Linked DNA regions of Homo sapiens: all the other regions are linked to region 6. Evidence: promoter capture Hi-C in 16 types of primary human blood cells and fetal thymus (Javierre and others, 2016). All regions are on one chromosome and are shown on one strand. The core of a region is centred on a gene start or on the middle of the fragment in contact, and the rest is flanking DNA. Distances in the headings are between cores, read along the strand shown. Region 1 overlaps RNF150 (ring finger protein 150). Region 2 has its middle 20 kb from the start of LINC02432. Region 3 has its middle 14 kb from the start of RNF150. Region 4 has its middle 39 kb from the start of RNF150. Region 5 overlaps RNF150 (ring finger protein 150). Region 6 holds the start of INPP4B (inositol polyphosphate-4-phosphatase type II B). Region 7 has its middle 41 kb from the start of LINC02432.

Region 1 (3,139 bases), core at 594-3,093, 1.7 Mb before region 6:
AGGTCCTTTACAGAGTTTAAGGCATAGGTAGACTTCAGCAATCAAAGTAACGGCCATAAAGGTAGCATGAATCCATACATTGAACTCTGAGCACCCACCTATGGAGGAAGAGCCTCAGTAGATCTACTACATTTTGCCTCCAACCTTGGAGAAGTCTAGAATACACAGATATACTCCATCCTAGGCTCCTCCTTTCCAAGGGCCTAGCATGTTCTCCAGAGTTACTGCAACCATTTCTTCCCTTCCTCCATCTCCAAGTTGCCCTTAGGGACCTAGCCTCACAAAAGTTCTTCCTAGACAGCTAGATGTTTCATTTCCTGTTGATTATGTACTAGCAATAGACAAACAGAAAGATATCAAACACACTCTTTAAAAAAGAAAAAAATAAAACATACCATTTCCTCAACATCACAACTCAGTCACAAACAGCCTGCATACACAGACTACCACGTTTATCATACATGCCCTTGCTACGATGAGATTTCAATTTAAGCCAAAAGAAAGTACAAACTCAATAGGAGAATCTTAAATGTTCATCAATCAAAGGGAACTGGAACACCCTGTTTCAATTAGCTGAGCCACAAACAAATTGGCACCACTGCTCTGGCCTCTTCAGTATGAAAGGGTAAATAAGGAGTTCTTTCCCAAGGCTGCCAGGAACTCAGTGAGCCTCAGAGGTATGATGATCCAGTGTGTAGCTCCTGCATGTCGTTGTGTGTCACTGGGTCCAATGCTTAGAAGGGCTAACATTTTTTGACTGCTTTGTGCCAGCTACAGATTTAAACACTGTACATGCATTAATCCATCTAATTCACATAACAAGCAATCGAGGTATGGTGTTATCCTCCACTTCACAAAGGAGGAAACCCAAGACCTGGGAGGTTAACTTGCACAAAGATACACAGTGAGAAAGTAGTGCCACCAGGACACAAATCCAAGTGGTTGGCTCTAGAGGCTACACTCCTATTTAATTAGTGCCCTAAACTGCCTCTAGAAATTTCTGATATCATCATTTTCCTTAGGGTACACCGAAAGAAGCTTCACAGGCAGGCATCAGACCAGCTTTGAGGAGGTAATTTGAGTCTCACTGCCTTTGCCTATAACTGAAAGTTCACTTCTGGGGCTTTTACTACTTGGAAGATGCATTTCTCTATAGCTTTTTGCTATGGCCTTCTTGGTGCTCTTGCACTAAAGATACAGCCTTATGTCCCTTAATAGGGGACATATAAATCTCTGGTCCATAGACTTAAAAAAAAAGTGAGAGAAGCAGATTCTCTCTATTAATCACTCTCTCTTCCCTAGCATAAAAGTGTATGAGTTGAAAGTCTGGAAAAGAATAAATAATGGTGGGTGTAAGGTGAAAGGGAATAAAATGAATAGCAGAAAAAAACAAGACTATGTTAAAAAGTAACAGTTAGTCATCAGGGAAATGAAAATTTAAAACAAAATGAAGATGCCACTTCACATCCACTTGAATGGGCAAAATAAAAAAGATAGTAACAAATGTTGATGAGGCTGTGGAGAAATTGGAACCCTCAAACACTGCTGGTGAGAATGCAAAATGATGCAGTTGTTTTGGAAAACAGTCTAGAAGGTCCTCAAAAGATTAAATCATAGAGTTGCCATATGACTCAGAAGTTCCACTCCTAGGTATATAATCAAGAGAAATGTCCATACAAAAACTTGTACATGAATGTTCATAGCACTATTTTTCATAACAATTAAAAGGTAGAAACAACGTAATTTTCCATCAGTTGATGAATAAATACACAAAATGTGATATATCCATACAACGAAATATTATTTGGCAATAAAAAGGGTTTAAGTACTGACGCATGCTACAACCTTGATGAACCTTAGAAAGATTATGCTAAATCAAAGAGGCCAATCACAGAAGTCCACATATTATATGATTCCATTTATATGAAAGGTACAAAAGAGGCATTTAAATACATGAAGACAGAATGTAGATTAGCCTAGGGCTGGGAGTTGGGGAATAATGGGGAGTGACTAGGAGTTGGGGAATATTGGGGAAGTACAAGAGTTTCTTATTAGAACTAGATAGTGATGATGGCTGCACAACTCAGTCAATACACTAAAAGCCATTGAAATGCATACTTTAAATGAGTGAACTGCAGAGTATGTTTATATTTCAGTAAAGCTGTTATACTGGGGAGGAAAGTGACTTGTTATAAAGCAAAACTACTGGTCTATCCCAGGAGAAGTGGTGTCTTTTTGAATGAGAAGTTATAGTTACATAAGTGGCAGAAAATCAAAATTATTTAAGCAGGAAAAGAAAAAAACAGAAAACGTATATGAAAAGGACAAAACAATTTCTATTTAATTGAATTTCAAGATACACAAATGCATAGATGTTAAACGACAGGTTGCATAACACTAAATACAGACCTTCTCACCTGAAATCTATCAGTTCCAAAAATAAAGCATCTAAGGAAAGGTGATAGATATATCATCAGCTTTTGCAGTTTTTAAAACTTTTTAAAAACTGAATTTAAAAGTTCACAAATATGCAGATTTTCTGGTATGGTATCCCAAGTTCACAAAATAAAAATATTTGATTAGCATCTAAAATGTGCAGTTTCTCAAACTGAATTCAGAAATCTGACCTCAAATTTAACTAGGAAAAGTAAAGCTTTCAAGATCTGGACTACATGGAAGACACTGACAGCCAGACAAGAGCTGGCAGTGTTTGAGATTTAGGCAGAAGAATTTCAGAGTATAGTCAAGGGTTTACCATGCTACCCTGTCATGTATCTGCTCATAATGACACTCTAGCAGAAATCAATGCTAGCCTCTGACTGAAGTGAACAGAGTCTCCTAATGTGGCAAAATGTCAGAAGATAATATGGAGTTTCCTGGCCATTGGCAGATACAGCATGAATACATTTTTGGAAACAGAACAATTAGATAATAGACAATTTCCAATTTTTTTTTTCCTTTAACGTTCAAACTACAGTATTACTAAACTTCCACTCCCACTATCTTAATCAAGCATCATTTGTGTGGGAAATCTGCTTAGTGTTTTCTTTAAAAATAAGCAAGCCATTAATTGATCCAATGTGTTGGCAGTTCTAGAGAACCTTTTTAGACAGGAACAAATGATGCCTCTTACTTTATG
Region 2 (3,109 bases), core at 305-2,804, 1.5 Mb before region 6:
TAAAACTAATTATCTATATCTGTATTGACATAGATATTTATTATATAAATTGCTTATGATATTACAGGGGCCAAGAAGTTCACAATCTGTTGTCTGTAAGCCAGAGAACTAGGAAAGCTGGTGGTATAATTCAGTCTGAGACTAAAGGCCTGAGAGCCAGAAGTGCCAATGTCTGAGGGCAGAAGAAGCTGAATGTCCCAGCTCAAAGAGAGAGAGCACATTTTTATTCAGACCCCCAAGAGATTGAATGATGCTCACCTGCATTGGTGAGGGAATCTATGCAGTCTACTGATTCACATGCTAATCTCTTCTAGAAACATTCTCACGGACAAACCTGGAAATAATATCTTACCAGCCACCTGGACATCCCTCAGCCCAGGCAAGTTGATACATAAATTAACCATCACACTGAGCTTCAGTAGCATCACAGAGAGTTTTAATTGGATTTAGCTCTCTTCCTCCATTACCAGAAAGAAGTACCTTGGAGAAAATGGCAGTTTGGCAGAAGTAGCAAGAACCGCACTTGTGATGTATTTTTTTTTTTCATACAAACTTTCTCTCTAATGGTACTTATTAATTTCCAAAAGCCAAATATTTGTGGTCTGACTGCATCAGAATCACTTTGGGGACCTGTTAAAAATACTGATTCCCTAGTCCAATCCCAGAACTCTGGTGCCAGCCTTTCTGGCAGTGAAGCCTGAGGAGTGATGCTCCCACGTGGCTCTGATGGCCAGCCGCCTTAGGGCAGCACTGGCAAATGCTGGCTGATGATGAAACCTTAGACTAAGAAGAAATCTGGTGGTGGGGAGAGTACATTCTTAATTAGGGAAGAAACTACTGGCTGTTAAAAGGTGATATTAGTGACTTTGTCTTTGCAGATCAAACTGCCTATGGTGCCATCTGAAAGATTCCTCCATGAATATTTAGGAGGCACTGGGAGGGTTTCCTGTATTTTTAGTGGGGTGGTGGGGAAGGGGTCACATGGTGAATTTTCACAGCAGTTTTCTTAATCTGATTGTATGTTGAAATGATTTGTTATGGAAATAGGAAAGAGGAAGTACTGTAGTCTCTCACGTGGACTCAACCATATTTTTTTAAAGTAAGATTTTCCTTTTTGTAGAGATGGTTCTTGCTTTGCTGCCCAGGCTGGTCTCGAACTCTTGGCCTCAAGCAGTTTTTCTGCCTCAGCCTCCCAAAGTGGCAAGAAACACTGTGCCAAAGCCTGAGCCATCTTGTGGGACATGGACTCCTGTCTTTCAAGAGTCTTTCATCATCTTTCATGAGCTCCTTTCATGTCCTTCATGAGTCTTTCACCATCTTTCCCCTCAGTGTAGTACAAGGAAAGAGGAACAAGCTTAGCAGCCAGTGATGAAATAAAATCCTGCTGCTGCCACCCGCTAGCTGTGTGACTTTAGCCATGTTCCATAACCTCCCTGAGCATTCATGAATTCACTGGTCAAGCAGGGTTAACTTCTCACTGGTTTTGTGAGAATTAAGTGAGTTAACATACTTAAATATGAACTTAACCAATACTGATTCCCTTGTATAAATCTGTGTCCCTTGTTCCTGGGACAGAACAGGTGCTCCATAAAAGATAGGCAGAGATAGATGAAAGAATGGGTGGTCAGTAACTTGTACAGGACCTCACATCTGTAAGACATGCTAAACTATTTCTGAAAATGGTCTCAGACAAAGTTGTTTTTACCAGAAGTCATCTCAGGCAGTATTTTATGTTTTTGGAAGAAGTTCCTTCATAAGCTTCCTGGAATGGGAGTGGAGTAAGTGAGGGTGTGAATTGCTAGGACTACGAATCCTTTCCTGCCTACACAGTCCCAGTTGATACCTGTTGTAATAGCACCCCCTTTGACACTAGAAAGTATCCCAGGTTGGATACTTAATCACATGGTCATCATATGTAAGGGTCATGCTGAAATAACATTAAGTGGTCACTGAACCATCTTTGGGGAAGAGGGTTTCCTGCAGAGTGCTGGTGGTCCTGAACCAGTGTGTGAGCTTGGTGCTGGCGCAGATTTGTTTGGGTAGTTGAGGAGAAGCTGAGTATTGCCTCTAGCAACTTTCCCCACTGAGTGCTCAGTCCTCCTAAATACACCCTGAACAAAATAGTAGTTTTAAGGAGCACTAACAGACCCACAGTTCAGGCTAGCCCAGATGGGGCTACAACTATTTGCTACCTCAATAATTAGGTGGTAGAGTTATTTATCAGAAAGAGAAATGGGCTAAGCACCAGGGAGTCCAAACTTTAGGCTTCACGGTTATTTAAGCTGTGTCTGATTTACTTTTGTCAGTCGCATTTAGCTGCTGTCATTGCATGTGCTTCTGAGAGGCTGCAGCCAGCCCTGGGTGATGTCCCATGGAACTTTCCTGGGAGTTACAGTGAATAAATTTTGAGACACCTTAACAGCTCCTGGGGCTGCTCTACTCCTTTCTGTATTTCAAGAATTTTCCAAATAATTGGGCTGTTGGGTAAGTGTGGTCTAGTTTCATTGGCGAGGTGTGGCAATGGTTTAACACTGCACCGTGTTCTGCTGGAAAAGTGGGACATAGACCTGTGGCCTCTCCTTTCTCTATCTGTGCTCACTCCCTGGATAATCTCTTCTGATCTCAAGAATTTCATGCCACCTCCATATAGCTGACTCCCAAATGTATACCCTCAGGATGGAACTATTCCCAGAATCACAGGTTTGTATATATAGCGGTGTATTTGATATTTCTTCACAGATGGCTAATAGACATTTCAAACTTATTATGTCCAAAATTAAACTCAATGTTACCCCAAACCTCAAGTTTTTTCCATCTCATTCCCTGGGAATTCCATTCTCCCAGTTGTTCAGGCAAAAAAATCTTAGAGTCATCTTTGAATTCTCTCTTTCACTCGTACTACATTTAACATGTTAGCAAATCTTATCCATTTTACCTTTGAAATCTGTCCACAATTCAACAACTTTCAGTTATCTTCACTGCTTCTACTTTGGTCTAAGCCACCCTCAGGCATTGTCAAGATTATTTCAGGAGTCTCCCAGTTGATCTTTTTGCTTTCACCCTTGGTCCTCTCACAGTCGGCTGCAGCCAGAAAGATCCTGTTAAATGT
Region 3 (3,008 bases), core at 31-2,530, 1.7 Mb before region 6:
GTTCTGTAGGCTCACCAATGATTTACAGCCTGTTTCTCTTGCCTTACTTGGCATGGCTACATTAAACTGAAAAATCTTTGAAATGAGGTGCCATGAAAAGAAAAAGAAAATCTCATTTTTGGATGTATAAACCAAAAAGGAATTGTATCAATTGCCCAGCCCATCTCTTTACCCAGGACAGAAGTCTCTCATGGGTCAGGGCCTACTTGGATGACTATATCTTATGGAAGATCCAATGTTCAAGTTCTACTATGGTTCAGGTTCCCCACTTTTATATCTTGTGCAGATTTTGAGGAGTCAGGTTGTGTCTCAGGGTATCATTGTGTCAGGACAGATATAGCATCAAACACGGCTGCCTCAGTGTGTGTCTGGAGTCAAGCATGTTCAGTGTCCCACTGCCTTCCACCTACTGTTCATTGCTACATAGCAAGCTTCTCATTGGTCCCTTTGCCTGTTACATTACAAGGAAGAATTTAACTTGACTGGTTAAATATTTCCGGGACTTGGGAAGAGAAAATGTGATCTAACCAACAATGAGATCTGCTACATTCTGTTACTTTGGGATGGATACATGTTTAATAAATCAGAAATAGGATCGGTTCTATTGACTAAGCTAAAGTGGTTTTAAAATTCATGTCACATTGCAGATCCAAATAATAGAGCCTTTGACCCTGTTTTCCTAGGGAGGAAAAATGTCTGCAGGAGAAACATTCCTTTTACAGATTGAAACCTTCTTCAACGTTTTTTATCCTATCTTCCAGTAAGAATATTCACAAGAGAATTATTGTTTGCTGAATTTAAGAAACATTCACTACGTCATGCAAATAACTTTAATTGCATTCTTTGGGAAAAGACAATCAGCATATGAGTATGATCCCATAACATGAGCCAACTATTCTTAAAGCATAGGTTGGGCCATCTTCTTATTTATGAAAATGGACTGCCTCCTGGGAATATTTAAGAGTAATATGCAACAACTGCTGTAATTATCAGCAATATGTCTCAGAAAAACTTGGGGAAGCCATAATTGAAGAGTTTAAAAAAAAGAAAGTTAAGGTTTGTGATGAGGTTACTGTACTCTCATCCCTTTGCCAAGTTGCCATTGAATATTAGCCAAACTTTGGAACACTCTCAGATATGAAGCCCACCAAATGACCTTGCTGGACCCATCTTGTAGGTCCTACATCCCACTCAAGGCAACTTTGTTATCTCCACTAAGAGAAGTATACAATCTGCTGGAGGTTTAAGGAATCAATCAACAATACCTTCTTTCCACTCTCAAGATTAGAGCAAGTTGAGAGATAGGACTCAAACAGATGGCAGCAATATATTAGCTTTATTACTGATAAAAGCTCTTTAGAGAATGTGACTGTGTTTTGCTTTTGTTTTTGTTTATGAGACAGTGTCTTGCTCTGTCACCCAGGCTGAAGTGCAGTGATGCGATTATGGCCACTGCAACCTCCCGTGCTCAATCGCTCCTCCCACCTCAGCATCCCGAGTAGCTGGGCCTACAGGTGTATGTCACCACACTCGGCTAATCATTGTATTATTCACAGAGACAGGATCTCACTATGTTGCCCAGCCTGGTGACTGTGTTTGTTATGATAAGTAATACTGGTTTGTCAACAAACCAACTCTAAAATTTCAGGGACTGAACAAAAGTTAATTTATTGTTCATATGTAGTCCAGTAAGGATGTTCCTGCTTGGCAGGTGGCCTTCAGCATGGCCATTCAATGGACCTTCCATAATGTGGCTCCATCCCTAGAGCTTCAAAGTCTGATGCTGAAGTTTCTACATCAGTTAATAACTGGGAAAGAGAGAGCGTGAAAGATTACACAGGAGGTTTTCATGTGGCAGATTTGGAAGAAGTGTACATAAGTTAATATTCCATTGCCTAGAACCCAGTCACATGGCCTAACCTAACTGTAAAGCAGGTTGGGAAAGTTGCAAATTTAGTGTATCTCTATGTACACAAGGCAGAGGGAATGGATTTTGGTGAAAACATAGCAGTCTTGGCCAAAATAACTGGATCTTAGCCAAGTGGGCTTGCAAATATTTCCTCCCAAACTTAGGCAGACTAATCCCTCAACAGTAACAGCTCATTCCTACAAGGGTAGACTCTGCCTCACTAAGCTTAGAGCATAGCTGAGAGAGAGAGAAACTCAGAATGCACCCTCTCTGTGGGCAGGCAGATTTCAGAGGGGAGGGGAAAAGGCTGATTGAACATTACTAATTTTTTCTTCCAATCTCATCACTGAAGGAGGAAGAAAAAATCCAAAAGTGCTACTCTAGGAAAATCATCTACTCAGAAATATGAGGCGTAGAGAATAAGTTTTCTCCCAGGAGTTGAATAAAAACTTTTAAACCAATTCATGTCATCCTTTATTCTTTAAAACCATATATTGGTTGGTAACATCCTTAAAATATTTTCTTGTGTCTTTCCTTAATTTTAGGATATATTATAATAATTGGCTTATTAAAATTATTAACAAAAGATTATTTAAATTACTAATAAAATTAGTCTTAATACAACTTTGAGACTCTCTACTTGTGTTTCTTTTGAAATACTATCTCAATAACTTTGTCAAATACAGGATGTATTTTTTGAAAATCTTTGTAAAATAAAATAATATATAGGATGATGGCTTCCTCTTATAGATTGAGCATGAGCAAAGTTAGTTCAGATCATCAGTGGTCTGTTACCCTGGACCTAGAATATAAACTATGCTTCCCTTTAAAAAGAAAACTCTCATGTAAGCATTTTATTGAATATGGTAGACTTGTGAGCAATAATTTATAACATGTTTTTATTTCTGTCAGTAACTGCCCCTGGACAACAGCTTTAGCAGGTTCTTAAAGCTTTTCACTTTTTTTTTTAGATGGAGTTTTGTTCTTGTTGCCCAGGCTGGAGTGCAATGGTGCCATCTTGGCTCACTGTAACCTCTGCCTCCCAGGTTCAAGCAATTCTGCTGCAGCCTCCCAAGTAGCTGGGACTACAGGCATGCAC
Region 4 (3,170 bases), core at 628-3,127, 1.7 Mb before region 6:
CTTTCATTTCGACCTCTGAAATTATACATCCATTATAGTGGAAGTCTACCGTTCAGAGATATTAAAACGGCCAATAAACAATCTCATTTTGGAAATGACCACAGAAATGACCACAGAAAGCAAATGGTAAATCACCTCATATGTCAACTAGCTTCAGTGTGTTCCAGAGAATAATTGAACATTCACTCTTGCAAGAATGTGATTGTTATAAGTGTGGTGTCAAAAGGACAGCAGTGTCTCCACTGTGACTACTTCCACCTGGTTGCATAAGTTTGTGTCCAAGTTGTTCCAAGGCTGATTTTTAGTCCATAACACATATTAATGCACAGTACATCCAAGGCCTGTGCTAGAAGCTGAGAACACAAAGAGGAATACGAGATAATCTTTCTCCAAGGAAATCACAGACTTCTGGACTAGAGAAGAATGCAAAATTGTAATTGCAATGCAGTCATGTTAAGGTTATAATGAATATATACACAGTCTGTTTAGAAAGCAAGGAGAGCTTCCAACATAGGGTTGTAAAGAATGACTTGTAAAAGAAGGAGGCTTAGAAAATAAAGTTTACCTTTCCTCGCCAGCCCACACTGCATGGTCTATGTTCCCAGTCAGTAGCAGAATCAGGACTGGACCCTAGATCTTCTCATGCTTCCCTGAGAACTTTCCACTAACAGCCACACCTCTTGGGAGAGATTATCCTTCTTTACGGTGGTCTATGTGAGTATCGGACCCAATAGGGGATTCTCTTTATTTGTAAGTTATATAAAACACATTTTCTCTGCGTGTGTGTGTGCACACACCCATGTGTGGATGCATCTATGAGAGACAGACAGAAAGAGAGAGAGAGAGAGAGAGAGAGAGAGAGAGAAAGTGGGGATTCTTACTACTTACTAGTGAGTGAGCACAGAATGGGGGAACTGAATCCATTACCTCAGTTAGTCTTAGTTTCCTCTGAGGGATGCTTAAAGACATTCTCTAGGCACAGGGATGAATGCTACTTTTGAGCTCCCACTTCACTTTCAATTGAATGTACTACAATGTATCCATAGCCCAAATTATACACAATTTGTATATAGATACATGTGCATGTACATATAGCACAACTGAACTGAATTGAGCTTGACTAGTTGACATAGGTTTTATTTTGTAGATGTTTAATTAAATGGTGTTAAGTTCCTCCCTTCCCATATTTTGGAGCCAATGATTTTCTTCAGATTTCAGATACATCCCAAAGCCCCCTTGAAGAACTTGTCACCAGTGAGCATCGTGCCTGTCATACCTAGGTGCTTCTTCTCATGTGAGCGTCTAGTCATGCTTAGAGTAAGTTAAAAATACTTATACTTTTATATGCTCTTTTATAATACCGCATATCATATACATTTGTACCTATACATAAGATCAATGTTTTCATTAGCTATTGCCACAATAATGCTCTCTAGAAAAGCACCACAAAATTTCAGCAGCACACAGCAATAGGGTTTTATTTTTCCCTCATGAGTTTGCTGGTTAGCTGGTGCTTCTCTGCTTTAGACTGTGGGGCAGCTCGGTGGCTCTGCTCAGTGTACTTCTCTGTCTTCTGGGACCGTGAGCTAGCTGGGGCATTTGCTTCTCAGGACGCTGGCAGAGGTGCAAGAGGGCAAACAGAACTTATGAGATCTCTTACCACCTAAGCTTGGAACTGCCAGAGTCCCTTTTCTCTACATGTCATTAGCCAAAGGAAGGCGCACAGCTAAACCCAAAGTCAAAAGGCAGGGCAGTGCGCTCTTCACAGCGAGACTCTGGCAAGAGCATGAATGTGGATGGGGTGAAAAATTGGGATCAATAATTTATCTACTAAGTTACCCCCCTTCCCTATACACACATTTGCCATGCTTAATAAATGATTTAAAATATTTTTGAGATATCGTGGACTTAGCAGTTGACCTGAAAACCTGTACCCTGTACGAGATATGACTCAGCTGTACCCATACCAGCTGGTGAGCCGTGTGCCCATGATACCAAGTCACCTAGCTGAACTTCCAGAGTTGGAGATTTTTTCTCTAGGCCTTAAATAACAACACTCACTTGAGCATTAATTACACTTGGTTCAAAAGCTTAATTTATGAAAACTAGGATATTGCCGGGCACTGTGGCTCATGCCTGTAATCCCAGCACTTTGGAAGGCCGAGGTGGGCAGATCACCTGAGGTCAGGAGTTCAAGACCAGCCTGGCCAACATAGTGAAACCCCATCTCTACTAAAAATACAAAAAATTAGCCGGGCATGGTGGTGGGCACCTGTGATCCCAGCTACTAGGGAGCCTGAGGCAGGAGAATCGCTTGAACCCGGGAGGCCGAGGGTGCAGTGAGCCAAGATCGCGGCATTGCACTTCAGCCTGGGCAACAAGAGTGAAACTCCGTCTTAAAAAAAGAAAAAAAAAAAGAAAACTAGGATATTAATCTTACTTTAAAGCAAAGTGCTACTGAAGACATGGTTTTCAAGAGAGACGCTACCTCCATTGCCTTGAGGGATTCCAGTGACTATTTCATTTGTATTAGACATCAGGTGTTTTGTCTGTAGTGAGTCAGCCATATTTATAAGGCTTTCTCTTATATTATTAGTTAATCCTTGATGCCTTGATCAATTATCACCTGTTACATTCAGAACAGTAGCTTATATACTCACTTTATAGTGGGTGTCTTTTATAAAGTTTTGATTATGCATTTATTTTCATTATACATACACTGTATGTTTGTTGCAAAAGTTAGAAAACAGACATAAGTAAAAGAGAGATGAGCATTGTGTACTTCACTAACATTATTTCAAACATTCCCCACAACAACGCTGAAAGGTAGAGATTTTTTGGTCCATTTGACAGAAGATGAAATTGAGGAACAGTGAGATCAAGGAGTTCACCTAAGTTGACATAATTGGTAAATGGCTGTCAGGATCTTCTGGCTCTATTGCCAGTGCCTAAGTTTCAATTTGCCCTCTTGCACCTCTGCCAGCATCACAAGAAGCAAATGTCCCAGCTAGCTCATGGCCCCAGGAGAAGACTGAGTACATTGAGCAGAGCCAGCCAACTGCCCTACAGTTGGTTAAATAGTGTTTTTACACTTTGGACAAGCCCTTTACTTGGAACTCCAAGGTGTCTTTATTTCTATCAATTTTAAATGAACACAAATAATAAATGTA
Region 5 (3,190 bases), core at 80-2,579, 2.0 Mb before region 6:
TTCCTATTACACAGGGTCTGGGGTTGAGTGAGGACAAAAGGAGGGAAAAGGAAGAGCTAAGGGATGATGAGAAACTCATATTAGCTTCTTAGAATTAATTTATTTTTCAGGCAATCCAGACCTTCTTTGCAATCATGAGTATTTTAACTCATGAGTATTTAATTCCTTAAAAATACAAACTCCCCAAAACCCAGGTCAGCTCTAAACCTAGGGATGAGCATTTACTTGGGGACAGCACGCACATTTTGTTAAGCACAGAAGCTTTCCAGCCCTGCTTTGACCAGCTCCCTGATCAGAGATCCTGCCATCCTCTTTTCTTACTTCCTGCAGGGTGACACTCCCATCCCATTTTAACTGCCAACATCAAACGTATTCATCCATGCAATGGCATGGATGAAGGACCTCGGTGGCCAAGAGCACTGCATGAAGAACCATGCATCCCCATCTTAAGAGGGTAGTCTCTTCGTGTCTCTTTGTCAGTCTTCAGGAATTAGTGGCCCTCAGATCACTTACGATGAGCAAGCACTTGTGCTAAGTAGTTAGGAAGAATGGGCATTCCATCAGGTACAGTATACAAGTTTTTCCAAGAAATCCTAACCCTGGGGGCTCAGGCGAATGAGGAGGGTCAAATGCTGAGGGTGGGAGAAAGCAGATCTAGACAGCATTCTGGAATTGTTGCTTTGCCATTATTTGCCCAGAAAACATTTATGGCAAGGAAGCCTGAAAACATGGCAATGGTTGTAAGATGGGTTGCGATACAACTGGTGATGTGAGAAGTGAAAATGAAACTGACTCCTTTAGGGAGGACATTGGTTTATAGTAAACAGGTTTGCCTCATCAGAAGTGAATATGGATATTGCTACACAATAAAAAGAGGAAAAACACCAACAACAGTAACAATGGTAATCACAATAATGATAATGACTCTGTAGGTATAGAACCTCCAGTTTTTTGTGTTCTGAAGGTTATTTCAGAGTTTCTTGCAAGAGAGAAAACAAATCAGAAAAAAAGGGGAAGAGAGAAGATGGGAAAATAATTTATGTATGGGTATACAAAGTAAGATATAGGCAGTCAGAGAAAAACAGATACAGACAGAAAAGGAAAAGAAACTTAGAGAAGATATAAAAATGCTACTGGAAATTGCCTCTGTGGCCTTAGTACCAGAAAAGACTGGGCTCTCGCTCCACAGAGGGAGTGACTCCATAGCCCAGATTTTTTGAAAAGTTTTGATTTAAGGATTTTTTTTTAAGTCAGGGTGATACATTCAATGGATAACTAAATGTCATTTAATTTTTTATGCTCTGCAAAAATATCCATCTAAACAAAACTCATAAATAAGAAAGAATCCTATGTTAGATCACTGGCATTGATTTGGTTTTGAGAGTATGGTAGCCTCAGGGATGTCAGGGCAGTAACTGAAATGGCCACTGGGCATGGTGAGCTTTGAAATGACCAAACCCAGATCTATGAATTTCCAGGATATTTCACCAGGATGAAGGAAATGTTAAAAACAAGAAAACAAAACAAAACAAAACAAAATGAACATTTTTGGACAGAGCTTTGCCTCCATGATTCTGATCATTACCATGTGATGTCAAAAATGGGTAGGTACCTTTGCCGCTTTTAATTTTCTGCCTTCTCCAGACTCTACCTCTCCCTGTGTAGATGACCAGAGTTGACACTGCAGGGGATATCTAACCCTAGAGATTAAGTCAATGTTCAAAAGCTGTATTCATAGTCAGGGCTCAGCTCTTCCAAAGGGACTAGCCACATAGGAGGTAGCAGTTCCTAAAGGTGACCCTAAATTATTTTGAGTGAATGCAAATGCTCCTTTTCTTCCCCATAGCATTGGGGTGGCAGGTGGATGCTGACTTGGAGTAAAATGCTGGCTGTTGGAGGTGGTCATAATTCACCAAGTAGAGACCGGATGATCACAGGCCCCCAAAGATTCTTTTTCAAGAAGGCCACATAAAGTCTTGCATTTCTCATTCTTTCCTCCCAAGTTCGTGAGTTTTCACTACAGCTGTGGGACTGGGGGACACTGGGAAAGGACTTTCACCAACCATGAACAAGAAGAAGGGGTTGAGGTAAAGTTGGGTGATTTCAGTCTGGAGTTCTCTTTGGCTCCTAAGTGCCACATATCAGTCCGAGGGTTTGCCATAGAAGTGAGGGGTATAATTTTGTTTCAGCACCAAATCAGCATGGTTTGTGTGAGTTTTAAGTAACAACTGGTCAGAGGAGTAACAACAAATGGTCATGGACATCAATGATATGGTTAGAAAGTTCAAGCAGAAATTTTAAAAAGGGTGCCTGAATCTTTATTCACTACAAAATAAATGGACCTCTGGGCCTCTCATTAGGCGACTTGGGTGGTGTCCAGTTCTCCCTGGAGGTAATTAAGCTTTTAACCTTCTTTTCTTTTGTAAGGGTCGGGGGATCTTGTGAGAATACTGGAGGAACTCTAGACCTGCATTGTCCAATTGGCAGCCACTAGCCACATGTGACTATCCAAATTGAGAGGTGCTGTGAGTGTAAAAGACACAATGGATTTAGAAGACTTAGTACACAAAAGCATGTAAAACATGTCATTAATTTACATTAGTGACATGTTGAAACAATATTAGGTTAAAGTACATGATTAAAATTATCTTTACCTGTTTCTTTTTACACTTTAAAATGTGGCTAGTAGAAAATTTAAAATTATGTCTGTGACTTGCATTACGTTTCTGTTGGACAGTGCTAGTCTAGACTCTTGCTATAGAAAAATGCACATCTGCAAATACACATACAGTCTGCATTTGCTTCTAGAGGGTACACACACCCTCTGACACTCATCTGTAGACTACCAGGTCTCCAGGTCAGTCTCTTCTTTGGGGGAGGTAAAGAAGGCTATAAGGAAGGGCTGTTCCCCTTTCTTCTGAAAGAGAAACTTTCTGGTTAAGCTTTTTTTTTTTCTTTTTTTTTTTTTTTTTAAACTATCAAAGCTACAGGAAAATCCTCCAGAAACAAACTTTGGTAAGTAGTGAATGGCAAAGGCTCAGGGGGTTTGCAGCAGGACCTCCTTGGGGTCAGATCTGCCAGCCTCGGGTTGGCCTTTCAGACCCCTCATCGTCTATGAGGCATCCTGTAAGTGCAGCTGTGGCCAGGGCTTGCATATGCAATCAATTCCTGATTCACCTAGTTCTTGGCA
Region 6 (3,137 bases), core at 363-2,862:
TACTCAACTTCTTACACATCATCAGCCAGCTGCCCTGTTGATGATTCCTTGCACCTTATGCGCTGCTTTATCATTGAGTCAGATTACTACCATTTCTGGTCCAGAACTCATTAAGAAAAGTCCTTTTTCAAGCAAGGTCTTTGAAATGTAGTTGTACACCTATAAAAGAACTATCTGGAGCTCATCTTGAGAGAGAGAAGATGAATTTATCCTCTGTCTTTAGGCTTTTACTTACAGAGCCACACCTTTATAAACAAGTTCTGTCTGTCATACTGACAGGAAGGAGATATGCAAAATGTAACATCTGGAGTCATAAAATATAATGACCTCAAATAACATTCCAGAAAGAGAAAGGAAAACTAGTTCTGGTTAGGGAGAAGATAAAAGAGGAAAAGGAGTAAATTTACATCCTTAAAACAAGAGTAATAGAAAACCCTACCGGGTTTTTCCAGTAAGTTTTGTGCAGCAGCAGCAACAACCTAATCAATATGTGCTTCCTCACCCTCTTGTCCCCAAAGAGAAACTGCTGGGCCCCTCTCCACCGACTCCCCAGGAGCAGAAACTACTGCCCCCAAGGAAGGGAGAATTCAGAAGCGTGGGGAGGGGGAAAAACAGGTATATGTGGTTCTAGCATCCTCATCTTCATATCAGCTACCAGCCTGAAACTACATTCAGGAACCAGGCTCCCAGACATTCCCCGGCCCTGGGCCCTGCCTGAGCGCCAGAGAGCTTGAGGAGCCTGCAGCATAGTTCTCAGACCCGAAACAATGACCTCCCCCGTCCAAACCCAGGCACTCTTGCGCCAAGGCCCTAACCTCTCAGCGAGACCTCTTTGGGGAAGGACAAGAGATGCTGCCTGATGGCCGAGAGAAGACATGCCAGGCTTCTCTGCCAGAATGAGTTGTTGAGGGTGGGATGAAGGTGGTCAAGGAGATGGGCTCTTTATTTTTAAAACAAAAAACAAGGCAACCGGGACCACCAACATCAGTCACCCTCACTCCCCACCACTGCCTCTATTCCTTAAGGACTTCTTCCCAGGCCGGCGGCGGCGGCGGCGGCGGCGGCGGCAGCTTGCGATCATCAGGATTGGAAGTGAGAGCGAGTGCCCGGGCCAACCTCAGCGTCTCTCAGGGACAGCGCAGGTGGGCGCAGCCTTGGAAGGTCAGCGAGGCCAGAGCTCAGAGTTCCACGGGGGCCCGGAGAGTGTGCGTGTGTGAGTGAGAATGCGAAAACGCGCGCGCGCCGGGCAGAGGGGCGCTCGGCGAGAGGGTAGGCGCGGTGACAGGGGTACCCCAGCAGCCGAGGAGAGACAGCCCACCCCACCCTTTAAGCTAAAGAGCTGGAGGGGTGATGGAGGCTGCAAGACGGAGAAACTTGATGCAAAACAGACAGGCTCCCCCCTCCAAGACGTGCCGCCACGCTCTCAGACACGCTCCCTCGCCTCCCGGATTACCCACCATCAACCACCCCACCCTGCAAAATTCCCCCACCGAGCCCTAGGATCCCAGGCGGGTAATTACCTCTCCCGGAGGCGGAGTGGGGGGCGGCAGCAGCAGCAGACACTTTTAGCCTGACTTTCCTGCGTTCGCTTGCGAGCGTGTGAGCGTGTGCGCGCCCAGGAGGAGCTGTAACCTGCTATTTATAGACCGAAGCCTCAGTACCCGGGGCTGAGAACCCGGAGGAAACTAGCAGGCGGCGGCGACGGCGCAGGGCGCCGGCCGCGGCTTCGCGAGGCTCCAGCAGCTCCCCCAGCCTCTGGCTTCGGCCGCGCTCCCTGCTCGCTCCTCGCCTACCAGCCCCGCGCGCGCCCCAGAGAAGTTGTCACCAGCGCGGCTGGCTCTCCGGCTGCTCACACGCCCCCTGGCACAATTGCTACTTTCTTCCACCCCAACCCCCACCCTCCCCGCTCCTCTTCCTCCTCCTCTGCTCTCTCCAAGCGGTCTCCTCCCAATGTCACCAGCGACCGAGTAGAGGCGGCCGTGGCAGCGACAGTCGCGCAACTGGCGCTGCTCGCTTCCCGCTACTGATAGAGCGGAGATGGTGGCCCGGCTGCCCACCCCGAAATTACCACGCTGGCTCCGTGTGCTCACACCCCGTACCCCGACCCCTTTCTGCGGCCCCTCTGCCCGCTGGGTCGCCCACCCAGACTGGGCTGTGGGATCACCGCTACCGCGACGAGGGGGGACCCGAGGCCGCCACGCTGCTGCGGGGGCAGGAGAAACCACAGAGAAAGAACCCGCGGGAGGAAGAAAGCGCCCCAGACCCCGGCCTATGGCAGCGCAGTCCCTAGACCGAGGGTTTTTGGAAGGGGCTTGGGATCCCTGCTGTCACTGCCTGCGTCTAGGCATCCATTCACGCCTGCTGGACCCCAGTCTGCAGCCGCGCTGGGACCCCTGTCTCTTGCCCCTCCTCCCCCTTGCCCCGGGCAGAGGTCGGGCTGAGGAGACCAGCTTAGAGCAGCCCTCGGCCACCCACCGCCAGTTCCCACGTCGCGGCGGGTGACTGAGGCCGAGATGCTCCCAACTAGCGTATGACATGCCTTTGATATCCCGGGTGCGTGGGGACAAATCCGCCCTGAATGTGTTGGGGTATCAGGAAAACGGGGTATGTAAGCAAGCAGTCTGGACGGAGACTAAAACTCCCCCACTTCCTAGCCCCTAACAAGCCCACAGGGGAAAGCACGCACCCTGGTTATTCCGGGCTGTGTAGGGTGTGGGGCAAATGACTCTCCCCATCTGCGCTTTACAGGTGCCACCTGGCGGCTCTCTCGGAAAGGTTTTGATGGAGCCGTTCAAAGGTAAAGGTGCCCAGAGCCAGCCCATCAAGACACCCCAGCCCTTCTCCCTGAGGGCGCTTTAAAATCACATTTTAAGTAAAGCAGTGTACGAATGCTTGTACACAAGTGTTACATTTGCCATGCAAAAAGACTGGAATCTCAAAGTCAGGACAGTGAAATCAATTTGGGTTAAGTCGGGGCTTAACAGTTTCACAAACCAGGAAGCTGTATGTACCCCCAGCTGTCACCCCTGCTGTCACTGCCCGCATCTAGGCATCCTTTCACTCCTCAAACCTTTGACCACCACATTATAAGCCTTGCCAATGAGGACAGGGACTTTGGGTTTGTTTTGTTTTGTTTT
Region 7 (3,427 bases), core at 688-3,187, 1.6 Mb before region 6:
CTAGCTACTCAGGAGGCTGAGGCAGGAGAATTGCTTTAACCTAGGAGGTGGAGGTTGTGGTGAGCCAAGATCGTGCCACAGCACTCCAGCCTGGGCAAGGAGTGAGACTCCCTCTCAAAAAATAAAATAAAATAAAATAAAATAAAATAAAATAAAATAAAATAAAATAACATTCAGAAAGTTCATATCTTTTACCTGCAAAGAGTAGTCCATTTATATTCAAGATTATTATTTATATGTAAGGGCTTACTTCTGTCATTTTATTTATTGATTCCTGGTTGTTTTGTATATCCCTTGTTCTTTTTGTTCTCTGTTATTGTTTATCATTGTCATTTAGTGGTTTTCTATAGTGGTAACATTTAAGTCCCTTCACATCCTCATTTGTATGTTTGCTCTACCAGTGGGCTTTATACAGTCATGTGTTTTCATTATGGTAGATATTGTCCTTTTGCTTTCACATGTAGAACTCCCTTCAGCATTTCTTATAGGGCCAATCTAGTGGTTGTGAATTACCTTAGCTTTTGTTCGTCTGGAAAATATTTTATTTCTCTTTCATTTATGAAGGACATTGCTGCTGGCAGTTTTTTCTTTTAGCACTTAGAATACATCATCCAATTTTCTCTGGCTTGTAAGGTTTCTGATGAAAAATATACTGCTTGTCTGATTGGAGTTCCCTTAAATGTGACTAGATGCTTTTTTTCTTGTTTTTAGAATTCTTTCTTTGTCTTTGACTTATAACAATTTGACTATAATGTGCTATGGAGAAGACATTTTTGAATTGTATCTGTTTGGAGATTTATGAGCTTCCTGTACCTGGATGTCTACATCTCTTGCTAGATTTGGAAAGTTTTCAGATATTGTTTAATTAAATAGGTGTCTATCTCTTTCATTTTTTCTTTGCCTCCTGGAACACTGATAATTCAAATATTTCATCACTTTATTGTGTATCATATGTCATGCAGACTTTGTTCATTCTTTTTATTCATTTTTCTTTATTTGTGTCTGGGTTATTTCCAAAGACTTGTCTTCAAGTTCTAAAATTCTTCCTTCTGTGTAATCCAGTCTATTGCTGAAGCTTTCAAATATATTTTGCATTTATTTAGTGAATTAATTAGTTCTCAGATTTCTTTTTTTAATGGCATCTATTATTTTGGTAAATTTCTCAATTGTATCCTGAATTATTTTTTCTGATTTCTTTGTATTGTTTATCTAAATTGTTTTGTATGTCATTGAACTTCTTTAATATACTTATTTTTAATTCTTCATTCAGGATTTCATAATTTTAAAAATTGGAATCTGTTGCTGGAAAATTATTGTGTTCCTTTGGAAATGTCATATTTCTTTGCTTATTAATTTTTTTGTGTGTCCTTAAGTTGATATCTGCACATCTGTTGTAAAGTCAATTTTTCCAGGTTTTTGAATTTGCTTTCATAGGGGAGGACTTTTTCCTTAAGATATATCTATGATGTTTTGGATAGGGCACTTTGGCCTTAATTCTGGGGGCATGCAGTAGTGTAGTCTTTGTATAATTTTTTAACCCACAGACAGCTTCGGTAGTGTCCATGACTTCCTCGGTAGCTTAGAGTGAAGTTTTTAGTGGAGGCTGTTTTGAAGTTTTTCTGGGGATGGGGATGTGGCAGTTGTGGACTGAAGTTGTACTGAGTGGTGAACTGGGCCCCAGAGTGACATATACTGGCATTGGTATTAGCAGGTCTGGGGAGGCCAATTCTTAGGTCTCCAGGCAGCTTGCTCATGTGCTGGCAATGGCCGCAGTGAGCCAGGTGGGTGGGCGGGTTTTTGGGCCCCTGGGCAGCAGGCATGGTGCGGTCAATGGCTGTGGCACTGGCAAGATAATATATTGGCTTCCAAGTGGTCTGTGCTGGTGTTGGCAGTGGCTGCAGTGGTCTGATTATCAATGTAGTCATTCTTTAGTTCACTTTAATAAACGAGTATAATTTTACCTATCAAAATTTGTTCAAAATAAATATCTCTTATTTGTTTTATCTGCTTTGACATTAAGGATAAAATACTCTTAACCATCTTTTATGTAATGATTAATTCCACTAATATTAATTTACTTAACTGCTCCATCCATATTTCCATGAGAATTTATATTCCATAATTCCACATAAGTTTATTTGTAAAGAAATGATTAGGACAAAGTCAGTGTAGGTTGGGGAATATGTAGCTTGACATCTAGAAGGAAATTTTGATTCATTTGGTTTTCCATGGTGTGGAAGATGTTTGGGTTGCTCTCCAGTGTTTCAGGTTTTACTCTTTTTAGGCACACAGTGTTGGGGGATATTGGTGGGAAAGGGATTGTATTTCCACTCTTTCTTGAAGATTGACGTGATACCGTGACTCAATTTAGCCAACAAAATGTGAGTAGAAGTGACAAACAATGCTTTGGTGCGGAAGTACTTACTATCCACATGAGACTGCCCAGCACACTCCTTTGCTGTGGTGACCTCGGGAGCACTATTACAAGGATAGTGCCATGTAATCAATGCAGCTAATCGAAGCAGAGCCCATACCTTCAGGACAGACATTTTCAGGGGGTATGAAGGACTTTGGGTGACTGAGAAACAACAGTTTTTTTGCACTAAATCTCTGATATTATGGTGGTGTTTTTTGTTACTACAGCATAAACCAACCAGTTCTGACAGATATCCATGCATACCACTTTTGTTTCTAATTACGTTGTACTTTAACAGGCAGTCACTCTGTTTTGCCTTCCACACATGTTTTTGACTGCACTGCCTTTTGGTAATTAACTCTCTTTTTTTTTCTAAGCACTGTGAAGCTTTGGCACCTTTCCCCTTTTTCACTTGCGCCATCTCAGATGAAATGCACTGGACATAATGTCTGGGTTCTAATCTACTTGTCCTGGCTCCAAAAAGATAATTTTTTGAAGCATAAGGAGGACATTTTTCCATTTGTTTGATTTTATGGGTGAACACAGTACACCATAGAAGGAGTGAATGGGATCCCAACTGCACAGCAGAAAAGGACTTTGTAGCTGCTATAAAAATTGAAAACCGGCCGGGCGCAGTGGCTCACGCCTGTAATCCCAGCACTTTGGGAGGCCTAAACGGGCGGATCACGAGGTCAGGAGATCGAGACCATCATGGCTAACACGGTGAAACCCCGCCTCTATTAAAAATACAAAAAATTTAGCCGGGCATAGTGGCGGGCGCCTGTAGTCCCAGCTACTCGGGAGGCTGAGACAGGAGAATGGCGTGAACCCGGGAGGTGGAGCTTGCAGTGAGCCGAGATCGCGCCATTGCACTCCAGCCTGGGCGACAGCGAGACTCCGTCTCAAAAACAAACAAACAAACAAAAAAAACCCAATAAACATTAGTAAATATTATGTGTGTCCAATTTTGATAAATAATGACTGAAGATTTGACATTGTCTCTACTCTAGA

The links. The method cuts DNA at HindIII sites, captures the fragments that hold promoters and counts their contacts. A CHiCAGO score of 5 or more calls a contact.
Region 1: a contact is called between a fragment that was not itself captured here and the fragment with the promoter of INPP4B in region 6, in 2 of 17 cell types (monocytes and M2 macrophages). The highest score is 5.9, in monocytes.
Region 2: a fragment that was not itself captured here is called in contact with the fragment with the promoter of INPP4B in region 6 in 10 of 17 cell types (total CD4 T cells, naive CD4 T cells, non-activated CD4 T cells and 7 more); the score reaches 37.8 in total CD4 T cells.
Region 3: a fragment that was not itself captured here is called in contact with the fragment with the promoter of INPP4B in region 6 in 4 of 17 cell types (monocytes, M1 macrophages, M0 macrophages and 1 more); the score reaches 11.0 in monocytes.
Region 4: a contact is called between a fragment that was not itself captured here and the fragment with the promoter of INPP4B in region 6, in 1 of 17 cell types (M0 macrophages). The highest score is 5.6, in M0 macrophages.
Region 5: a fragment that was not itself captured here is called in contact with the fragment with the promoter of INPP4B in region 6 in 7 of 17 cell types (naive CD8 T cells, non-activated CD4 T cells, naive CD4 T cells and 4 more); the score reaches 20.4 in naive CD8 T cells.
Region 7: a contact is called between a fragment that was not itself captured here and the fragment with the promoter of INPP4B in region 6, in 7 of 17 cell types (naive CD4 T cells, naive CD8 T cells, total CD8 T cells and 4 more). The highest score is 14.1, in naive CD4 T cells.

Annotation. Positions count from the first base shown.
Region 1 is chr4:141,127,469-141,130,607 of GRCh38, forward strand. The region is part of intron 1 of RNF150 (ring finger protein 150); the gene reads right to left. Among named protein-coding and RNA genes, the nearest start is that of RNF150, 4.4 kb to the right of the region's middle. The HindIII fragment of the contact is 1,615 bases long and covers 1,037-2,651 here.
Region 2 is chr4:141,310,685-141,313,793 of GRCh38, forward strand. No RefSeq gene overlaps it. Among named protein-coding and RNA genes, the nearest start is that of LINC02432, 20 kb to the right of the region's middle. The HindIII fragment of the contact is 404 bases long and covers 1,353-1,756 here.
Region 3 is chr4:141,145,584-141,148,591 of GRCh38, forward strand. It overlaps a transcript of RNF150 not described here. Among named protein-coding and RNA genes, the nearest start is that of RNF150, 14 kb to the left of the region's middle. The HindIII fragment of the contact is 1,703 bases long and covers 430-2,132 here.
Region 4 is chr4:141,170,629-141,173,798 of GRCh38, forward strand. It overlaps a transcript of RNF150 not described here. Among named protein-coding and RNA genes, the nearest start is that of RNF150, 39 kb to the left of the region's middle. The HindIII fragment of the contact is 422 bases long and covers 1,667-2,088 here.
Region 5 is chr4:140,862,599-140,865,788 of GRCh38, forward strand. It overlaps RNF150 (ring finger protein 150), which reads right to left. Exons shown (of 7, transcript NM_020724.2): 7 at 1-3,190. Among named protein-coding and RNA genes, the nearest start is that of TBC1D9, 110 kb to the left of the region's middle. The HindIII fragment of the contact is 2,140 bases long and covers 260-2,399 here.
Region 6 is chr4:142,844,689-142,847,825 of GRCh38, forward strand. It overlaps INPP4B (inositol polyphosphate-4-phosphatase type II B), which reads right to left and starts at 1,613. Exons shown (of 26, transcript NM_001101669.3): 1 at 1,521-1,613. The region is part of intron 3 of USP38-DT (USP38 divergent transcript); the gene reads right to left. RefSeq lists an enhancer at 2,370-2,956. The HindIII fragment of the contact is 4,051 bases long and covers 1-3,137 here.
Region 7 is chr4:141,289,929-141,293,355 of GRCh38, forward strand. No RefSeq gene overlaps it. Among named protein-coding and RNA genes, the nearest start is that of LINC02432, 41 kb to the right of the region's middle. The HindIII fragment of the contact is 1,728 bases long and covers 1,074-2,801 here.